Linked DNA regions of Homo sapiens: region 1 is linked to region 2. Evidence: promoter capture Hi-C in 16 types of primary human blood cells and fetal thymus (Javierre and others, 2016). All regions are on one chromosome and are shown on one strand. The core of a region is centred on a gene start or on the middle of the fragment in contact, and the rest is flanking DNA. Distances in the headings are between cores, read along the strand shown. Region 1 has its middle 110 kb from the start of GAD2. Region 2 holds the start of ANKRD26 (ankyrin repeat domain containing 26).

What was found. The method cuts DNA at HindIII sites, captures the fragments that hold promoters and counts their contacts. A CHiCAGO score of 5 or more calls a contact.
Region 1: a fragment that was not itself captured here is called in contact with the fragment with the promoter of ANKRD26 in region 2 in 1 of 17 cell types (neutrophils); the score reaches 6.1 in neutrophils.

What each region holds. Positions count from the first base shown.
Region 1 is chr10:26,324,219-26,327,397 of GRCh38, reverse strand. No RefSeq gene overlaps it. Among named protein-coding and RNA genes, the nearest start is that of GAD2, 110 kb to the right of the region's middle. The HindIII fragment of the contact is 4,363 bases long and covers 1-3,179 here.
Region 2 is chr10:27,099,174-27,102,561 of GRCh38, reverse strand. ANKRD26 (ankyrin repeat domain containing 26) reads left to right here and starts at 2,068. Exons shown (of 34, transcript NM_014915.3): 1 at 2,068-2,477. The coding sequence starts at 2,236. RefSeq lists a silencer at 2,222-2,401 and an enhancer at 2,572-2,631. The HindIII fragment of the contact is 14,700 bases long and covers 1-3,388 here.

The DNA of each region.
Region 1 (3,179 bases), core at 618-3,117, 770 kb after region 2:
ATTTCTTAACTGTTTAGCACATAGATCGAATAAACCAGAGATCAATTAAACCTATAGACAGTATTTTAAAAAAAAAACTCTTGTCTGGAAAGTCTGGTAAATCAAGTTTATCCTAAAACTGCCTCCGTATATATTTTAAGTTCAGCCTAAAGATTTCTCCGTACATTGTGAACTATGATCTAAATGGAGTTATAAACAGACTGTAATCTATTCTGTGCTAATCACCAAGTTTTGGCCAATCAAAAGTGGCTAACTGTTCAAACTTTGTTCAAATAAGGCAAACGCTGAGCTGTAACCAATCCGGCTGTGTCTGTAACTCACTTCCATTTTCTGTACATCACTTCCCTTTTTCTGTCCATAAATATTCTTCCACCATATGTCTCTGCTGGAGTCTCTGAGCCTTCTCTGGCTCAGGAGGCTGCCTGATTTGCAAATTGTTCTTTGCTGAATTAAACTGCTTTAAATTTAATTCAGCTAAAGTTTTTCTTTTAGCAAGTCCTTTTTATTTTTTAAGAAAAAACCCAGCATATTTATATTCATCAAATAGATGCTACCAAATGAGAAACAATTTGTACAATGTTTTTTATTTAGCCAACAAGACATCTTTTCTCTTGTTTTATCTTTAGGATGATGTTTATCCCAATCTTCAAATTATATCCTATCTCTTTATAAATTACTCTGTTCAGAACATGTTAAAAATACACTTGATTTCATGACAGCACATTAAAGAAGAAGCCTGCAATCTGGGTTTTCTTACTTAAGAGGTAAACAGTATAGTTTTGAAAATTATATTGAATAAAATATATTTTGGAATTTCTTGTCACCATCTGGAACACTTTTATAAGGAAACTCAGTAAAACACAGAAATGAATATATATACAGATATATTTATATATTGAATATTTATATACATATTTGAATATATATATATATACACACATATATGAATATATATAGTGGTTTCCACTTTCCCAAAAGAAATAGTAGCTGGGAGCATGCTTTTGCTGAGTTCCTATTCTAGACTTGACACATCATCATGAGTAAGTGACATTGTTGTCCACTCTCAGGTGCCTTCCACTCAGTTTTGATGTCTGTCATCCATGTCTCTTAACTTTTCTTTCATTCTTTTATCTTTTATCCTTCAAGGCCACTGGTTGGTTCTTCATTCCCACTTTGCTCTTTAATTTATTCTGGCGAATGCATTCCTGCAACTATGATATTTTTCATGCCCTGTGTCACCAGTTGATCTCCCTTCTGTAACTTTTTCTTCTTGCCTCATGTTTTCAATACCTGTCTTTATCTCTTTGAGGATAGTTCTAGGCTTATGTTTAAGTCTTAGTCTGCCTGGGGTATTGATTTTTCATTTTCTAATATAGATTGTCCCATTTAATGTTTTTTTTTCCTAGTGCCCATGCTCCCCAGTGTCTCATTAATTTTTCTTAGGAGTTTTAAAGTCAAAACTAGCCACCTTGGTTTGTCAAGGGTTCCATGACCTGGGATCTCCTAGACTTACTCTTTTATATTAAATGAATGATAAACAGATACTTACATGAATAAGATATATGAATTAACTTTTAAAAAGCAATAAAATAAGGTCAAGGAAGTGTTGGTGATGATTTGGGAGGTGGGGGCAATCCCTGCACAGAGTTCAAATCTGTATCAATTTGTACTCTGCTTATCTGAGTACAAATTGATACAGGTTTTCTGTGGGGAAATTTGGCCATGTGTACTAAAAACTTTAAAGATGCACCCACTCTTTGATTAAAAATGTCTTCTTTGGCTAGGAGTGGTGCCTCCCATCTGTAATCCCAGCACTTTGGGATGCCAAGGTGGGAGGATCACTTGAGCCCAGGAGTTCAAGACCAGCCTGGGCAACATAGGGAGATTCCCCATCTCTATAAATAATTTAAAAATTAGGCCGGGTGCAGTGGCTCATGCCTGTAATCCCACAACTTTGGGAGGCCGAGGCAGGTGGATCACCTGAGGTCAGCAGTTCGAGACCAGCCTGGCTGGCCAACAAGGTGAAACCCTGTTTCTACCAAAAATACAAAAGTAGCCAGACTTAGTGGTGGGCGCCTGTAATCCCAGCTACTTGGCAGGTGAGGCAGGAGAATCATTTGACCTGGGAGGCAGAGGTTGCAGTGAGAGGAGATCACACCATTGCACTCCAGCTGAGCAACAAGAAACTCTGTTCCAAAAAAAAAAAATTGCTAGGCATGGTGGCATGCATCTGTGGTTGCAGATACTCAGGAGGCTGAGGTGGGAGGATCACTTGAGCCTGGGAGGTTGAGGCTGCAGTGAGCTGTGTTAGCGCCACTGAACTCCAGCCTGGGTGGCAGAGTGAGACTCTGTCTCCAAAAAAAAAAAAAAAAAAAAAAAAAATCTGCTTCAAGAGTTCACATTAAAAAAGTAATTAGTCCAGTGTGTGAATGTGTGCAGGCAAGGATATTCATTGTAGTATTCGTTTTCATAGAGAAAGATTGCCCAGATGAATTTCAGAAGGGAATAGAGGAATCTGATTCATTGATTCTTCAATGAGCTCCCTCTCCTCTGTGTGTCCTTGGCCATTAAAATATATATATATATATATATGGTGGCTTTGAGAATGAAGGAGGTCTTTCTCTCTGAACTTGAGCTCCTTTGTAGTTTCAAATCAAAACTTATCCCAGGATCAAAAGTTCTAAACCTGTGATTCTATGACCCTCTGAGGTCTATGACTCAGCTTCTAGGACTCTGTGAAGTAGGCACAGGATACCTGTCTTCATTTTATTACCGATGTTTTGAAAATCATAAAATGAAACAAAACCAAAAACTTGCTTTCATCTCAGCTACATGAAGAAAATTAATATTTGGTGCATTGAAATATTTTGTTTATATCCTTTCTCTTAGAGAGGGCCTCATAGCACTAATGTCAATCTCAAAGGGGTTCATGATTCAAAAACATCAGGAATTCATGCCATAGACCATCATGGCATGTCTAGTACTTACTGAATTCATATATTACCAATTTAGCTATCTCTAGTGGAGACCCTTCAGGGCAATGTTAACATAACTTTTGATGTGGAAAATTAAAAAAATCTCTCAACAAATTGCTATGTTTGATCAGATTCGTTTACATTTTTGCTAATTGTATTCTTGTCATATTTTTTCTGTCTGTCTGGATTTGTCACTCAGTTTTA
Region 2 (3,388 bases), core at 819-3,318:
TCATCTCAAAAAAAAAAAAAAAAAGAGCTTTATCTAAGGGATTTGCTAAGGCATTCATATCTCAGTTGATTTTCACTATAAAACAAATATTCCCCTAACACATTAATTTCATTGACATAATTATTAAATGAGGGTATAGGAAAACTGAACCAGGGCATTACTTTAGCCTTAGATAGGCATGGGAGTTCCAAGTGACAACTTTCTAGAGGGTGTCTGCTCTGGATCTGAAATTAATTTCCATATGAATGGGAGATCTTAGCTTTCAATGAACTCCAAGAAACTTTTTGGGGATCCAGCATTTGGCTGATGAATTCAACACCTCAGAGCTGGCCTAACATATAGTCCTTGGGTATCTCTGGTCTATACAAAAACACTATAGTCAACCAAATCTCTACAACTTACCTGGAGAGTGGTGTGTGATTCCTATATCCATCCAGACTGGTAATGTCTTTGGCCTTAATTTCAGGCTGCATTAGGAAATGTCAGAGTCCTCTGTTCAGAGTCAGTGTTCTCCACACTTGAGTATTTTTTGTTTGTTTTTGTTTTTGTTTTTTGAGAGAGAGTCGTGGTCTCCATCCAAGAGTCTCCACTCCAGAGGCAGTGGTGTGAACCTCTGCCTCCCAGGTTCAAGTGTTTCTCCTGCCTCAGCCTCCCGAGTAGCTGGGACTACAGGCATGCACCACCACACCCAGCTAATTTTTGTATTTTTAGTAGAGACGGGGTTTCACCACGTTGGCCTGGTCTCGAACTCCTGACCTCAGGTAATCCACCCACCTCGGCCTCCTAAAGTGCTGGGACTTGACTAGCTTCATAGATCACCTTGGGGAGTGTTGAGGAGACAACATAACTTTCTAGCTGGGGTAGTGTAGGAGGAAAATTCTTGGTGACGATAGTGGAAACCACTCTCCCACATCAAAACCATTTGATCTAGCTAAGCTGGAGAGGCCTGAGAAGTGTTGTTTTGTTTTTGCTCATTTCTCACTTGGCAATAAAGACGCCTGTTCTGGGGCCAGCCACCTCCTCCACAAGGGACCCTAGAGCTGTCCAGAGCTATGGAGGTGCATTCCAGCAGCAATTTCTGCTGAGACTCCACTTGACGTCTGCGTTGCTAATTCCAATTTGTTGTCAAATTATTCAATCTAGGCTGGGCGTGGTGGTTCACACCTGTAATCCCAGCACTTTGGGAGGCTGAGATGGGAGCATCATTTGAGCCCTGGAGTCGGAGACCAGCCTGGGCAACATGGTGAGACCCTGTCTCTACAAAAAATGCAAAAATAGCCGGGCGTGGTGGCTTGCGTCTGTAGTCTCAGCTACTCACTCAGGAGGCTGAGGTGGGAGTATCGTTGAGCCCAGGAGGTGGAGACTGCAGTGAGCCGTGATTGCACCACTGCACTACAGTCTGGGCGACAAAGCGAGACTCTGTTGGGGAAAAAAAAAAAAAAAAGAAGAAAGAGATGTAACCTTGGAAAATCAAAAGCAAAAAATAAAACATAAGGCTGGGCCAAAGGCAGAGGGGTGGGGGAAGGAGGCATGCAGAAATGCGTTCTCATTTCTTCTGGAGAATGTGCATTGGTTTCTCCTCGTAAGTTTGCACTTGACACATATTGCCACGATCTCCGAAATCCTGTGCCCTCTGCACTTGACACATATGCCACGATCTCCGAAATCCTGTGCCCTCTGTTGTTGCATCTGTTAAGTTCTCATGGAGACCAGATGGCACCCAAAGGGACATGGAAGGGGAATAAACTGAGAGATAGGGAGATTCAGAGAGTTTCTTAGGGGAGTTTTCTCGGAGAAGAGGCTTTCAGCATCTTAAAACTCCACGCTACTCCAGTCCCAGTCATGCGTAAAGGCTGCTTCCCCACAGGCGCGAGGCTTCTTTTCGCAAACGTCCTGAACACTCAGCCAGACTCCCACCGACATTTGTTTGACAGGAACGCAGGGCTCGTCCCAGTCGCCGAGATTTGCGAGGTCTGGGCCTTGCACATGCGCATGGAGCACACTTGACCACTGGGCCTTCGTGCGCACGCGCGTGGACCTTGCCATCTGAGGTGCGCATGCGCACTTGTGTCTAGCGGGATCGCTTGCTTGGTAACCCGGAGGGAGAGATTGGAAACCGCGGAGTTTCCTTTGGGAGGCTGCGGCCAGCCGGGGCTGACTTGTTATGTTGGGCTCCGGAGGCCGTTAAGAGCCGAGAGAGACATGAGGTGTCTCTGAAGCCCGGTCGCCTGGGCCATGAAGAAGATTTTTAGTAAGAAGGGCGAGTCGCCCTTGGGCTCCTTCGCGCGGCGGCAGAGGAGCAGCGCGGGAGGCGGGGGCGAGCCGGGGGAGGGCGCCTACTCGCAGCCCGGCTACCACGTCCGAGACCGAGATCTCGGCAAGATCCACAAAGCTGCCAGCGCGGGTAATGTGGCGAAAGTGCAGCAGATCCTTTTGCTCAGGAAGAATGGCTTGAACGATAGAGACAAGATGAACAGGTAATAGGCGTCGCAAGCCCGGACTGAGTGCCACTGGAGTAGGCGGGCAGGAAGAGGGGCCCCTTTTGTGGGAGCCACCCAGGGCCTGGATCAGCCTCCCGCGGGCTCCGTAGCCCCTGGGACGGTGACACCTTGCAGGGCTCCAGCGCCCAGGCCGCCTTTCTGAGCAGAAAAACAAAAACAGAACTCTAGCTGGTTTCCGATCCCCCCGAAATCCCTTAGAGAGCACTTAAGTGACAATTTTAAAGTGAATTAACGAACAAAAGCACGTACAGCGTTTTATTTTTAATGTACACATTTAAGATACAATGTCATACACTTATGGAAAGGTGCATAATGAGATAAGCAGTTTCCATAATATAGCAACTTCTGGGTTAAAAATTATTTCTATAAAATCTGTTATTCGTCAGGCGCGGTGGCTCGCGCCTGTAATCACAGCACTTCGGGAGGCTGAGGCGGGAGGATTGCTTGAGGCCAGGAGTTCAAGGCCAGCCTGGGCATTATAGCGAGACCCCCCCCCCCAACTCTAATAGTCTCAGCTACTTGGAAGGCTGAGGCAGGAGCATCACTTGAGCCCAGGAGTTCTAGGCTGCAGTGAGGTATGTCAGTGACAACAGAGCAAGACCCTATCTTTCAAAAAGAAAAAGAAATAAAATGCCTTTAGGAAATAGATATACAAGTAATTTGTTTTTCTCAGCATTGCTTAAGCAGTGTATTAAGGAGAACCCATAGAATGGATTTTGTGAATAAATGTCAGTGCATGATAATATGTGACCATTGAAAGTGGCAGTAGAGGCCAGGCGTGGTGGCTCGCGCCTGTAAACCCAGCATTTTAGGAGACCAAGGCAAGCGGATATCCTGAGGTCAGAAGTTCGAGACCAGCTTGGCCAACATGGTGAAACCCCGTCTCT